Regions from separate parts of the Homo sapiens genome. Here regions 1, 2 and 3 are each linked to region 4. Evidence: promoter capture Hi-C in human tissues and cell types (Jung and others, 2019). All regions are on one chromosome and are shown on one strand. Each heading gives the region's core, a stretch centred on a gene start or on the middle of the fragment in contact. The rest is flanking DNA. Distances are from core to core; before and after follow the strand shown. Region 1 holds the start of LOC105370569 (a long non-coding RNA gene). Region 2 overlaps LIN52 (lin-52 DREAM MuvB core complex component). Region 3 overlaps PROX2 (prospero homeobox 2). Region 4 holds the start of NPC2 (NPC intracellular cholesterol transporter 2).

Region 1 (3,769 bases), core at 1,187-3,686, 350 kb after region 4:
GAGCAAACCAAAGTAGGTGCCATGTCATCTAGAGATCGACTATTACATTTTTTATTAGATTGACTAAGAATCTCAACTGAGGTTTTCTTATTTTGTAGGCCCCTCAGTTTTTGTGTTAAGTATTTTATCCTGCTAACTGTGCAAATTGCAGATATTTTGGTAAAGATGTCTAGAGCCTGGCTTAATTACTAGGATTATAAAAGCAACAGATTCTCAGCTGAGATAAGTTTTGCTAAGCCATAGAAGGAGAATGATTTCTCATTTTTAGTATTCACAGACCCTAATACAAGTTCAGATTCTTCTAGAAGCTGTATGACCTTAAGCAACTTTTTTTTTTTTTTTTTTTTTTTTGGAGACAAGGTCTCACTCTGTTGGCTGGAGTGCAGTGACGCGATATAGCTCACTGCAGCCTCAACTTCCTGGGCTCAGGTGATTCTCCCATCTCAGCCTCCCAGGTAGCTGGGACTACAAGTGTGCACCACCACACCCAGCCTTTTTTTTTTTTTTTTTTTTTAAGAGATTGGTTGTTGCCATGTTTCACAGGCTGGTCTTGAACTCCTGGGAGCAAATGATCGCCTATCTCAGCCTCCCAAAGTGCTGGGATTATAGGCGTGAGCCACCGTGCCTGGCTGAAATATTTTAACCTATCTGAGCTTCAGTTTCCTGCCTATAAAATGAAAATAACAAAACACACCTATTAAACATTGAGATAATGCATGTAAGCTACTTGGCACAGTACTGAGCACATAGTAAAAGCTCAAAAATCAGTAGTCACCATCATCGTTACTTTTTGACTTGTTCTCATGTGTTCTTTTTGAAATTCAAAATATCCAGCTGGCTTGAAGATAGTTGTCACGTTTTATAGTCAGCTATCATAGACTGAGCTATGTCATATGTAATAGTACAGTGTGTTGAAAGAGTAATTATTCAGAAGCATTTTCAGGTAACCAGTGACATTGATTTTCAGAACTAGTACGGAGGCTTGAGAGGCTCAGGTGTAAAAGGTAATTTAGTACTTAGAGGGGGTTGAGTAGTAACAGAAAGTAGTTGTCAGACCACAGGTATAAACATAGGTGAGGGCACAGAATCATTGATTTGCCTTGATTTTCACATATTCAAGAAGAAAGTAACTTTGTGAATAAATAATGCGTTCATAAAGGTATAAAACTCAGGAGGTTCAAGTGTCCCATCCATCTTAACCCTCAGCCTCCCACGACTCCATCTGTAGAGGCAACCAGTGTTGAGAAAAATTGTGTGGATAAGCATTAAGTATTAATGTTTTTACCTGGTTTTTGTACACACACTACCTTATTTTTCCTTTACCAGTATGTTTTAGAGGTCATTCAGATCATATATAAAATATTCACATTTTCTCTCCCCCCCACCTCCTTCTTTGGTTTTCCAAAGGTACCTTCATAATATAAAGAGGTTTACTGAAAAATTTCAGAAATTGTTTCAGCTGCATCTCTGTTCTTTTCGTGGCATGGAATACATGGTATGGGTATATTTGTATACAATTCTTTCATATATGTAGGTTGGTGTAACCACCCTCCACCTTTCTCCTAGTCCCCCAACCCCACCATCTCTAACCCTTGGCAGCCACTAATCTGGTCTCCATTTTTATAATCTTGTCATTTAAAGAATGTTATAAATATGAAGTCATACAGTATGTAACCTTTTGGGATTGGCATTTTGGCTTTTTTCACTCAGCGTAATTTTCTTGAGATTCATTTAAGTTGTTATGTGTGTCAATAGCTTATTCCTTTTTATTGCTGAGTAGCTTTCCAACTCATTCTCTTTTGCAGCTGCAGAATGTTTTATGTCTTTACTATCATTTTAACTTACAGAGTCTCTATTAATGGGTATTCATGCTCTCGTTTACTGTTATAAATTATGAATTTCACATATACTCAGTCATTCTGCAGCTTCCTGTACTTGCCTGATTTCTAGCAATGAAGGAAAATACCGATGGCACCATTTCATAGACATACTCAAAGGATGACAAGCACTTAAGGACCAGCACAGCACAGCGGTGAACTCTCAAGACAGTATGACAGTAATGAGATGACGAAGGCACATCTTGTTTCCTGGAAAATTCTGCATGATAGGAGACTGACAAAGCAAAGAACCATGATGTGTCTTAGAGAACCAGAATGGTCAGAGACTCTGATGATCCCCTGGTCCACACGTGACTGAGAGTTAATACCTTAGGTCACTGTTCTCAGAACCTGGATATTTATATGCACGTGCACCTCAGTGACTGATCCATTCTCAGTTTTCAGGTCCATTGCTTTCACATTTGAAATAGTCAAGGAGCATCTTTATGACTGGGGCTGAGCTTCTGCATTCATGTACAGCCCTCTGCCTGCCAGCAGTGCCTTGCATTTGTGATCCTACAAAGAGCCTGTGGACTTAATGGTTTACTGTATAGGGAAAGGCTTGACTTTGTGTCTTCTACTTAAGAAGCTTGAACTTTTTACCAAATATTCGTACTCCTTTTCCTGAAAATACTGATCTAGGCTACAGATCCATCTCTTAACCATATTTGAAAAATTGAAATAATATCTTCTGCCATAACTTGAAATTCCACTCTCAGATCTGTTATTTCTGACAGTGAGTTTGTATTTCTCAAGTAGATATGTCTGATGCTTATTTCTTTTACAGCATCTGGCTCAGTGCATGGCTCATATATCTGTAGAGTGAGTAAATACAGGGAATGTTTCCTATGTGTATGGCAAGGGTCACAGACTCAGGCAGGTAACAGATGAGCAAGGCAGAGGGTGGAGACTGGTAAACTAGACAACTAGATAGGTCAGGTCAATCGGGGGCAGCACCTGCTCAGCCATAGCAGATTGTGGCCATGTGGGGATATAGGTCTCATATTGCCAGATTTCCTGGGTTTTCAAGAAAAAGTGAAAAATCTGGATTTTTATGTGAGATCTTCCAGTATTTCAGCATCAGGTTCTTTTTGTTTGTGAGTGCTTTGGCCCTCACAGCCTGCCTGCCACATCTGACTTGTGGACTGCCGGCTTGAAACCTTTGATATTTAGAGAAGTGGTTAGACCTTAGAGTTGGTTCTGGTGAGATCCTTCTTGTTTTACAGATGAGGTTTCTGAGACCGAAAGAAGGGAAGTGACTTGCTCAAAGTCTCACTGTTACTCAGTGGCAAAACAAGACTAGAATTTGGGTTTCCTGGTCCATAACCTGTCACTTTCTTTTTTCTTAACTACAATACCTCCTTTATGAAGACCTTCATAAATTCTAGGATGGTGAATTCTCCTTTATTTTGTGTGTCGTGTGCAAGTGGACATGTGTGTATTTACTAAACTCTGTGGACCTGGAAATACATTCTGATATGACTATCAGGAACAATGTGATTACTTCTGAAACCAACTTCCTTAAACTCTCATGTATAAGGTAGCTATACACCTAGGATCCCTCTTAAACACTTACTACTTGGTTGGGTAATTCTCATGAATAACAGAAGCTTGAAAATTAACAGAGTATTGGATTCAGTGATTGTACAAGAGCAGTGGAGTTTTCTCCACAAAGTAGAGAAAATCATTTGTGTATTGTTATGCAAATAGCTTACAGAACTATTAATAATTTTGTTTTCTTTAATTTGTAATTTCTTATGTAACTAGTCCATTTGCTTTCACCCAGTGATGAGCATCTTACCTGCTTCACTCGGTAGCGCTCCATTCCTAATCTTTTTAAGGACAAATTCATCAACTTGGCGTTAAAGTCTATCAGTAACATGATCCCAGCT
Region 2 (3,567 bases), core at 758-3,257, 390 kb before region 4:
TAAATCCTCTTTCCTGCATTAATTGAGAGGATGACATGGGTGAAAAATAAGCAGTAGGAACTGATGAATCCCCAAGGACCAGTGATCCTGTTTTTATGCAAATATCTGCACTGATAAAGATGATGGAAAGAAAAAAAATGCAAAAAATATTTGTCCTCAAAACATGATTGTTTGTCACTTCCCAAGAGCATTGTTAAATGTTAGTATAAAAATTATATGAACCTTCTAGGGCTGATAGTAACTAGGTTGTGTCTTTTGGAAGATGAGTGCTACCCTTTGAATTGGTACATGATTATGCCTCAGATAACCCTTTTGGTGTGCAAATTTTGGAATGCAGTAACTTTTCTTATAGGGATTTATAGTCTCTCAGATGATTGAGGCCTCTTGGCTTGATTTGGGCAGTTAATTTATATGAAATTCCCTTGAAATATATAGAAATATTTAAAAAAGTAAAACTCTGCCTTAGCATATGAAGAATTCCATTTCTATTATTTCCATCTGAGCTCAGAGTCCTCCCTCTTTTACTGGAACTATGTTACAGTCACCTTCTAGCTGGTCCCTCTGCCTCTCAACTAGCCCATTCCAATCTATCTTGTTACTGCTGCCGCATTGTTTTTGTGTTTGTTTTTTTGAGACAAGGTCTCTCATCCAGGCTGGAGTGCCATGGCCTTATCATGGCTCACTGCAGCCTCGAACTCCTGGGCTCAAGAGATCCTCCCACCTCAGCCTCCCAAGTAGCTGGGACTACAGGTGCAGTGCCACCATATCTGGCTAATTTTTTTGATATTTTGTAGAGACGAGGTCTCACTATGTTGCCCAGACTGGTCTTGAACTCCTGGGCTCAACCAGTCCTCCCTCCTTGGCCTCCCAAAGTGCTGAAATTACAGACATGAACCACCATGCCTACCCCAGCCTGATTTATTATTTATTTATTTGTTTATTTTTTGAGGCAGTGCCTTGCTTTGTCTCCCAGGCTGGAATGCAGTGGTGCAGTCTTGGCTCACTGCAACCTCCACCTCCCAGGCTCAAGTGATTCTTATGCTTCAGCCGTCCAAGTAGCTGAGATTACAGGTGTGCACCACCATGCCCAGCGTTTTAAAAATATTTTTAGCAGAGATGGGGTTTCACTATGTTGGCCAGGCTGGTCTCGAACTTCTGTCCTCAAGTGATTTGCCCGCCTGGCCTCCCAAAGTGCTGGGATTACAGGTGTGAGCCACCACGCCCGGCCCCGGCCTGATTTTTTGAAGTACATTTTCTTCTCTTTGTCTTTTGCTCATAAATCATTGGTACTACTTCATTACCCATAGGATAAAATTTAGGCCCCTTAGTGTGGCATTCAAAATCCTTTGCATTCTGACCCTCGCCGGATTACTCTAGCCTTCTTACATCTCCTCTACCAAAACACATGCACTGTCTCTGTCTGAAGCTTCGGGAAATTGTTCTTTTTCTGGGTAGTTGGTGTTTTAGTGATGAGACGTAATATTTGAAGGTCTTATTTCTGGAATGTCTTCTCTTATGACAGTGGATGGTCAACAGCACAGAATAAATACAGTGTGAAACTTGTTGATGATCGCTTGGTTTATCTTCTACTTGAACCCTACTCCATCACTATTATTACATGCTTATGATCCTGATTTAGACCTGTAAGTTTCAATACTACATTGCTTCCTTTATTCCTAAGGTTCATTATCATGAATCCTATTGAATACTAGTTCTCAGCAGTTTTTACCCTCTCTTTCTGGAATACTTCCCCATCTTCTTAGTTCTACTCATGCTATTCCTTTTTCTCGGTAAGCTGTCCTTCTATCAGCTTTCCCTTTTCATCCTTGATTTAGAAAGTGAGTGCTCTCTCTGGCCTCTCAAATTGCCCCTAGAGCAGTTTGTTTGTTTGATTTGTAAGGTGCTTTTACCATTCTTCTTGGAGATTTTTGGTACATGTCTCAGTCCTTGGACTGATTGTAACTTTTTAAGATAAGAATCATATTTTTACTTTTTCAGCCCATAGCCCATAGATTTTTTTCCCCATCTCTGAAGACCACAGACCAGTTAGTAGTCATGCAAATGACCTACTTACTAGCTATCTTTGAAATATTTTTAAATAAAATGTGAAAACTGGGAAAGCAGAGGATTGTATCATTTGAAACTACGGCTAAACCTTGGGACCCTGATACATTTGGTTTTTTTCTCTTTTTTTTGGGTAACAGCTTTATTGAGATGTAATTCACATAGTCTATAATTCCCCATTTATAGTGTGCAATTCAGTGATTTTTGTATATTCAGAATTTTGCAGTCACCACCACAACCAATTTTACAACATTTTCATCACCTGAAAAACCTTGCACCCATTAGCAGTCACTCCCCATTACTTCCCAAACTCCCCAGACCTAGGCTGTTACTTACTGGCTTCATGTCTCTATGGATTTGCCTCGTCTGGACATTGCTTGTAAATGAAATCATATAATATGTGGTTTCTTGTGACTGGATTCTTTCTGTTAAGATAATGTTTTCAGTGTTCAATTATGCTATAGCATGTATCAGTGCTTTCTTTCTTTTTATGGCTGAATAATATTCCATTGTATAGATACGCCACATTGTATTTATCTACCTGGTGATGGGCGTTTGAGTTGTTTTCACTACTTGGCTACTTCAAATAATGCTGCTGTGAACATTCAGGTTCAACCAAAACACACAACTTTTTGGGTAAACATGTTTTCATTTTCTTAGGTTTATAGCTAGAGGTGGAATTCCTGGGTCATGTGGTAACTCTATATCTGATCTATTGAGGAACTGTCAGACTGTTTTCCAAACTAGCTGAACCATTTTGCATTCCCACAAGCAGTGTATAAGGGTTCCAGTTTTCTCACACCCTTGCCAATACTTGTTATTTGTATTTTTTGTTTTTTTAATTATTATCATGTCCATCATAGAGGGTATGAAGTAGTGTCTCATTGTGGTTTGGATTTGCATTTGTCTAGTAATAATGGTGTTTAGCATGTTTTCATGTGCTTATTATATATCTTCTTTGGAGAACTATCAATTCAGATCCTTTGCTTATTTGTAAATTGTATTGTTTGTGTTTTTATTATTGAATTGTAAGACTTCATTATATATTCTAGAAACATATATATGTTATTATCACATATATGACATTATCAGATATATGACTTGCAAAAGTTTTCTCTCATTCTATGGGTTGTCTTTTTACTTTCTTAATGGTGTCCTTTGAATCACAAAGCTTTAAATTTTGATGAAATCCAATTTATCTATTTTGTTGTTGCTTGTGTTTTAGTGTCCTACCTGATAAACCATTGCCTAATCCAGGTTCTCAAAAACTTATGCCTGTGTTTTCTTTTAAGAGTTTTATAATTTTAGATTTAGGTCTTTGATTCATTTTAAGTTAATTTTTATATTTGGTGTGAGATAGGGATCTAAATTAATTCTTTCGCATGTGGATATCCAGTTTTCTTAGCATCGTTTGTTGAAAAGACTATCCTTTTTCTATTGAATTGTCTTGACATCCTTGTAAAAAATCAGTTGGCAGCCAGGCATGGTGGCTCACACCTGTAA
Region 3 (3,532 bases), core at 80-2,579, 370 kb after region 4:
ATCTGAAATGCTGAGCCAAATGGAGTTTGGATTTCAGAATTTGTTAGCTTATAAAGATAATACGATGTGTGTACCACACATTAATTAACATCCACAGCTGAGACAGTGTATAATCCAATACATTAACATTTCTGCAGCAGAACGTATGACTATACTAAGTGGGATAAAATCTATTAATAGCCTCCAATCAGTGCAAGCCAGGTTTTGCTACCAAAAAAAAAAGATTGCATCATTCTTAGGGGGGGAAAATCATAGGGCCTGTCAAAGCTTTATGGGTTTCAGAATTGTAGCTAAGTGGTGGTGGGCACATATGTGTGAAGTGCTGGTAGCAATGCCTGCCACCGAGAAGGTGTTCTGTCAATGCTCCCCTCGTGATCTTCACATCTGCCCTACCTATGTCACAGGATGTCATGTGAATGTGAACGTTCTTTTTATGCTGTAAAGCAGCTTGCTCTCAGGTGGCTTTCATGGCCCACAGGAATAAATCTCTTGGAATATAGGCAGCAGGAATGAGGGAAGAGTTGAGGGGCCAGGGTGCTGCTAGGGGGTCCCAAGTCATTCCAAAGATAGTCAAGTACTTCACCCATGCAGCCAGTCCTGGCTTAGGTATTTCTTAGGATAGGCCCCAAACCTCCAGAAGCTCTCTGAGCCCAATCCCCAATTTAGGGGGCAGGAACAGGCACATGTAGGTGCTCAACAAATAGCAAATTCTGGGAGACTGAGGTGTTTTTGCAGCTGTCTGAATTTAATGGAGAGTCAACTAGTGGTTATCAAAGGCCCAGACAGGTAGCCTTTCTTATAAAGAAAATCTGTCTATGGTGGAATCTCTGCCTCCAAGAGTGGTGGCAAGTGAAGTGTTCTCAGCATTGGTTTTACAGTTGCTCGCTAACTTCCAGGAAAGCTTTGGGGTGTTTCCAACACTTTTGACCGGCAGGGGGCGCTCATGGCATTTAGGACACAAAGGCAGGTTCTGGCATGGTAATGAGCTGGTCCCACCCCATCCTGCTGCCCTCACAGTAGTTGCCAGGCAAAGGACACGACTGTTCCCACCTGGATATGCAACTCCATAGACTCATCAGCTTCTGGAGATTCCCCTCAAAGCTGCACACAAGAAGCAGCAGCGTGAGCACAGCTAGCTTAAAAAGCAACATCCAAAATATATTCTCAAGAACTTAAGTTCTGCAAGATGCTTGTTAGAAGTGGTCATATGGGTTTGGGGCTGTGTACATTCTCCTCTTAGAGCTTCCATTTACTCATGTTAAAGGCTCTGAGAATTCCTGCAGAAAAGAAACTATCTCAGTATTTCCCCAAGGTACTTTTTCTTCTAACTCAACAATTATTAATATCCCGAGGGTTACTCTGGGAAATACATTAAGAGAGTAGTGTCTACTTAAGGGTTGCAAAGATGATGCAATAAGATCCAGAGCCCTGCAGATCAGCCTGGGCCACTCAGGCCTCCTCATGGGGAGCCTCCTCTCCCTTCATATGCCCAGCCCCTAGTCTCCAGGCACTCCATTGCACCTTGGAAGTTGTTCCTTAAACTGGAGACCTCTGGCCGTTTCCAGCCACCTCTCTGGGTTTAATCCCCGAGGAAAACTCCTTTTCCATTTGGCCCAGAAGTTTCTTGTTCCTCATCTGCTCCCCAGGAATTATCTACACAATATAGGATTTTTGCTTGTAGAGCTATGGGGTTGGGGAGGCCATACCTTAGATGACGTCATTCCTTTGACCCTCTCCTCCTAAGTTTATGGGTGGCTGACAACCAAATTATGGATTCTTTCTTCCTTAGGGTATTCATTGTATTTCAGAAGCCTATTTGAGTCTCAAAACAAAACCCTTTTAGACCCAAAGGAATAAGTCAAGTGGCAGAACCCGATGGGTCATAGAAGAAGCTAAGTGAACCTTCCCAGGTCCTTAAATTCCAGAATGTGGTCACCACTATAAGCTGAAGGCCCAGAGCAACATTAAGAAGACCCTGAGTGATCTGTCCCCAGCTCCTCTTCAACTTTTAGTTTTCTTGTTTCTCTGCACAGTGTCAATGGTATTTTAAATTATTTATTGAAACATTGTCTCTCTCTGTTGCCCAGCTGGAGTGCAGTGGTGCAATCATAGCTCACTGTAACCTCGAACTCCCGGGCTCAAGCAATCCTCCTGCCTCAGCCTCCTGAGTAGGACTACAGGCATGGGCCATCATGTGCAGATAATTTTTTATTTTTAGAGATGGGGTCTAGCTATGTTGTGCAGGCTAGTCTTGAACACCTGTCCTCAAGTAATCCTCCCACCTTGGCCTCCCAAAGCACTGGGATTACAAGCATGAGCCACACTGCACCTGGCCAACAATGAGAACTTCAATTGCTATTAAAGGATATGTGGACCAAAGAGAAAGGCAGTGCCTCCATGACAGCATGCAGGCCTCTCTGTTCCATCTTCACCGAGGGAAGAAGGGGTAGACTTTCCAGATGGGCAGAGGTGAAAGGCAAGGGACACTGCTGCTGGCTCAGGACCAATGGTTGCGGCTTAGTAGTTCTCCAAGGTCGTAGGGCAGGCTCTGAGGAGGGGTGCCTCTGGGAAGATGAGTCCTGGGGAGGACTGCTACTCCAATGGCCATTGTTGTATCTATGACCCAGTAGCTGGCTAAGAATCTGATTTTCCTGGATGTGGGAAGGTGCAGTCAAGGGAAAGTTTGCTGGGGGATCCTGACAGGGTTTGGGGGTCATTCTTGGAGGGATAGGGTACCTAGGAGAATCTAGACGCTTGGCCAGTGATAAATTTCCTACTGGGACCCCAGCTTGTAGCTGGACCCTCCTGGGCAAGGCAGCCAAAGCAAGTGGATCTTTACAGGCCCCTCCCACAGGAGGTGAGGGCTCGCTTCTACCCTCTGCCACCTGCCCCTGGAAGCTTCTGCCCAGCTGAGTCAGGTGGCCTGGTGGATCCAATAGTACCTTTTGTAATACCGAGTCCACAGCCTGGGACACTGCCCTGGTCAGCTCTTTCCTCAGAATCTCTAGTGAAGCTGGTGCTCCAGAAGGAAGGAAACTGGGCTTCTCAGACTCTTGGTGTTTTTCTGCCCCAGAGAGGTCCTTGCTGGTACCTTGCTGGTGGTCACCGTCCACAACCCAGGGGCGAGGCCCACAGCCATTCCCCTGCTTTGCACTCAGAGGGCCTTTCCCCGTGCCACAGCCTCCTGGCCCCTGAGCTGTGTCCCTGGGCTTGGCAGCCTGTAGGATGTGCTCTTGCAGATGTCTTAGCTGTTGCTTCAGCAGATGAAGTTGTTCTCTCACACGAGGGCCCCCCTTCCTGTTGCCCTGGTCCCAGGCAGGGGCTGGCATCAGGAGGCCTTGCGGTGTGGGAAGGTTCTGCTTCCTCTTCCTCTCTCGGGCCTTCTTTGGGCAGCGTGGGCTGACCCCAGCTTGCGCATTGCCTGGCACCAGAGGATTCGGGGAGAGACACATGCCTCGGACAATGGTCTCCACTCTGGCCCTCTTTGCCTGGATGTGCTCATCACCAAACCATTCGGGGTCTGTAGGGCTGG
Region 4 (3,463 bases), core at 884-3,383:
AAGCGATTCTCCTGCCTCAGCCTCCCGAGTAGCTGGGACTACAGGTGCACACTACCATGCCCAGCTAATTTTTGTATTTTTAGTAGAGATGGGGTTTCACCATGTTGGCCAGGATGGTCTCAATCTCTTGACCTCGTGATCTGCCCGTCTTGGCCTCCCAAAGTGCTGGGATTACAGGTGTGAGCCACTGTGCCTGGCCGGAATGAGTTATTAAAATTAATAGTGTCTTCATCCAAACGCTGGCTACTAAGTTTAATGGAGGGAAAGGCAGTAATTTGAAGCGATAATAGCTTTCAAGTGCCAGTCTCCTAAATCAATGGAATAGCATTTAAGTGTTAATCGGCCAGCACTCCATTCCTTAATCAATCCTGTCCCCTAATCCCCAACTTTGCTTTTGTCTCAACATGAATTTTTATGACATAGGGGAAAAAGATTTCCATCTATGTTTTCAACACATTTCATTGAGCAGTTACTATTACCTGGGCACTGGATATAAAGCAGCAAACTTATGAAACCGCCTTTGCAAAAATCCTGAGGAAATTAAGACAGTGAAAGAGATCAGGACTCACCTACCCATCTTCCTTCTAACCTCTAAACTGTCTTTGTTCATTCCTGGGTGTAGGCTGAACTAGTCTTGGAGAGGAATTTATAGTTTAAACTCTGAAACGAAATGGATAATAGCCCTTTCCTGAAAAACCCCTTCTTGCCTGGGGACCGGTCTGCCTTTGTAGGACTAACAAATTAGCTACGAGTTTAGGGGCCACGCCGCCTCTGGCTGTAAGAGTCTGAACCTCCCCAAATTGCTCCTGGTAATGATATCACTATTGTAAAACCTAAGGTCAGTGCTTGAGATATTTTGCAGATCCTGCATTCCGATGCAGCAAATGACACCACCCAGAGGTCAGCAAGAAGAACTCACTTCGACTCTCCTATGATTTTATCTTCAACCTGACCAATCAGCACTCCCCACTTTCCAAGCCCATACCCGCCAAATTATCCTTAAAAACTCTGATCCCCGAATGCTCGGGGAGACTGATCTGAGTAACAATAAAACTCCGGCCTCCCCCACAGCCGGCTCTGCGTGAATTACTCTTTTCGCCACTGCAAATCCCATCTTGATAAATCCGCTCTGTCTAGGCAATGCGCAAGGTGAACCCCTTGGGCGGTTACACTTACTCTGGCTCCCCATTCTGCTGCGTGACTTTAGGTAGGCTACCCAACATCCCTGGAATTCAATGATTGATTATACGATCTCCGTGCTTCCTTTCCACTCATAGATCTTACAAAGTCAGTTTCATGCCTCTTTCATTGACAGTTCTATCTCTCTATCTCCACCTCTGAACAACATTGCTCGAGTTTCTGTTCCGACAATTCTATAGACTCGACTCAATGAAGGCACTCAGAATTTCTACCACCTGTTGTATTTTCCAACAAAGATTCCAACCACAGCGGCGAGAGGGAGTTATGTATCACAAGCTGTGATTAGAGACACAATGAGATTTATACAAGGAAAAACTGATTAAGAATCACAAGATTCCAAAGCCCAAAGGAAGTCCTATTTGTAACAATAAATGATGAAAAAGGGGAATTGACTTTTGACTTGTCAGCAAAAACGAAATTAAAAGAAAAGCAAAAGGAGTTGGAAGGGGGAGGCGGGATTCCAAGATACAAAGCATAAATAAAAAGAAGTTCTGTGCTCCACCCCTCCACCAGAGCTGGATACAGCCCTTCTGTTGTCCGCCCTACAAACTTTAGGAAACTTCAGCAAAAGGCCCACCTCCTGGAGTTCCCAGGAACCCCAAAACACGCGTTCTAAGGAAAGAAACAAAGTTGTGCGCGGTCGGGTTTCATGGAGGCCGGCGCCTTCTCCCCCGACCCAGCCCATTCCAGTTAGGTAGGGTCCAAGGCTCAGCCTGGCCGCCCGAGGGATCCGCCCAGCCCAGCCCCAGGGGTCTCAGCGCGGGGGTCCGGCGGGGCCTTCCACAGAGGGCGCGGGAACCTTGGGCGGGCCTGGGGCTCACCGCAGTCCTTGAACTGCACCGGTTCGGCCTGGGCAGCGGTGCTGAGCGCCAGGAGCAGGAATGTAGCTGCCAGGAAACGCATCGCGGATAACGAAGTTCCAAGCTCGGGAAAGAAGCAGCGGCCGCCCGCGGTCACAAGACAAACCTGTCGGGGCGGGCCCGGGGAGGAGCCCAGTCAGGCGACCTGTCACCAGTAACCACAGCTGAGGCCCGCCCGCGCCCCGCCCCCGGCTCCGGAAAGCCAGCTCCAGCCCTCTCAGGCCCAGAAGCCTGCAGTCTCCGCCCATGCCATCCCCTCAGAGGCCTGACCCGCCCGGACCCACCTCCGCCCCGCCCCGCCTCACTCCTCCCCGCCCCGTTCCTTCCCTTTAGAGCACCTCTCCGGCTTCCTGGGTGCGTCCCCGCCGCTGCCGTCTGGAGCATTCCTAGCCAATCAGACACCTTCTCCTCCCGCACTACCCAATAGGCATGTTGGGGGGGCGGGGCCTCCGTGAAGTCCCGGCCTCCTGTTCGTTCTCTCCGCCTCCCGAGGCCCCGGGTGAGAAACGGGGGAGACGCGAGGGGCGGAGCTTGTGGAGGAAGATGGCTGCCGCCTGGGGGTCGTCCCTAACGGCCGCGACGCAGAGAGCGGTCACTCCCTGGCCGAGGGGCAGGTACCAAGACTAGAAAGGCACCTGGAAAGGGTGTTTGGTTCTGCGCCTCTAGGACAAATGGGAAACTAAGGCCTGTGGGGGATGCGAGGGTTTGGTGGGAGGCCGTCCAGGTGGGGGTCGCCAGGTTTAGCGTGAGGCGCTCCAGGTCGAGGGTTGCAAGGTGCCCCTTCTGCTCCCGGGCTCACCCTCCTCCCTTGCGCGCAGGCTCCTCACGGCCTCCCTGGGACCCCAGGCGCGTCGGGAGGCGTCGTCCTCCAGCCCCGAGGCCGGCGAAGGGCAGATCCGCCTCACAGACAGTTGCGTCCAGGTAGGAGGCCGGACGCGGAGCGGCGGTACCCAGGCGATTGGCGGGAGCAGCGGGAACTGCTCTTCACTCAGCCCTTTAACTCCCGTTTCCCGCTATTCTTGATCCCCCTTCCTGCATTTCAGAGGCTTTTGGAAATCACCGAAGGGTCAGAATTCCTCAGGCTGCAAGTGGAGGGAGGTGGATGCTCCGGATTCCAATACAAATTTTCACTGGATACAGTTATCAACCCCGACGACAGGCAAGGAGGAAGGGGTGGGCCCCCAAAGGAGGTACAGGAGGGACAAAAGTGTCTCCAGTTTAAGGTGCACTTTTATTCCAAATTTAAAGGGTTTACCTGGGATGGTTAACACCGCCCGTCTCACAGTGAGGATGCAGTAAAGGTTTGTTGTTCTGAATCAAAGTAACTAAGTTATAGGAGCAAAATTGATCTGCCCAGGTCCATTGGGTAGTCGGTAGAAAGTCAGGCCGGACTAGATTCCAGG

The links. Contacts are between HindIII fragments. The study calls those that stand out against the background at their distance.
Region 1: a contact is called between a fragment that was not itself captured here and the fragment with the promoter of NPC2 in region 4, in 1 of the 25 tissues and cell types used here (IMR-90 fibroblasts).
Region 2: a contact is called between a fragment that was not itself captured here and the fragment with the promoter of NPC2 in region 4, in 1 of the 25 tissues and cell types used here (aorta).
Region 3: a contact is called between a fragment that was not itself captured here and the fragment with the promoter of NPC2 in region 4, in 2 of the 25 tissues and cell types used here (bladder and hippocampus).

The regions. Positions count from the first base shown.
Region 1 is chr14:74,838,651-74,842,419 of GRCh38, forward strand. It overlaps LOC105370569 (a long non-coding RNA gene), which reads left to right and starts at 516. Exons shown (of 2, transcript XR_944033.3): 1 at 516-1,495; 2 at 1,951-3,369. RefSeq lists an enhancer at 3,252-3,411. The HindIII fragment of the contact is 4,426 bases long and covers 224-3,769 here.
Region 2 is chr14:74,105,663-74,109,229 of GRCh38, forward strand. The region is part of intron 5 of LIN52 (lin-52 DREAM MuvB core complex component); the gene reads left to right. All of the region lies in intron 1 of LOC105370563 (a long non-coding RNA gene), which reads right to left. Among named protein-coding and RNA genes, the nearest start is that of LIN52, 22 kb to the left of the region's middle. The HindIII fragment of the contact is 3,681 bases long and covers 168-3,567 here.
Region 3 is chr14:74,860,161-74,863,692 of GRCh38, forward strand. It overlaps PROX2 (prospero homeobox 2), which reads right to left. Exons shown (of 6, transcript NM_001243007.2): 3 at 2,370-3,532. Among named protein-coding and RNA genes, the nearest start is that of PROX2, 14 kb to the right of the region's middle. The HindIII fragment of the contact is 3,852 bases long and covers 1-3,255 here.
Region 4 is chr14:74,491,172-74,494,634 of GRCh38, forward strand. It overlaps NPC2 (NPC intracellular cholesterol transporter 2), which reads right to left and starts at 2,134. Exons shown (of 5, transcript NM_006432.5): 1 at 2,022-2,134. The coding sequence starts at 2,103. It overlaps ISCA2 (iron-sulfur cluster assembly 2), which reads left to right and starts at 2,594. Exons shown (of 4, transcript NM_194279.4): 1 at 2,594-2,674; 2 at 2,879-2,981; 3 at 3,104-3,219. The coding sequence starts at 2,604. RefSeq lists silencers at 1,887-1,946, 2,117-2,396 and an enhancer at 2,597-2,676. The HindIII fragment of the contact is 6,262 bases long and covers 1-3,463 here.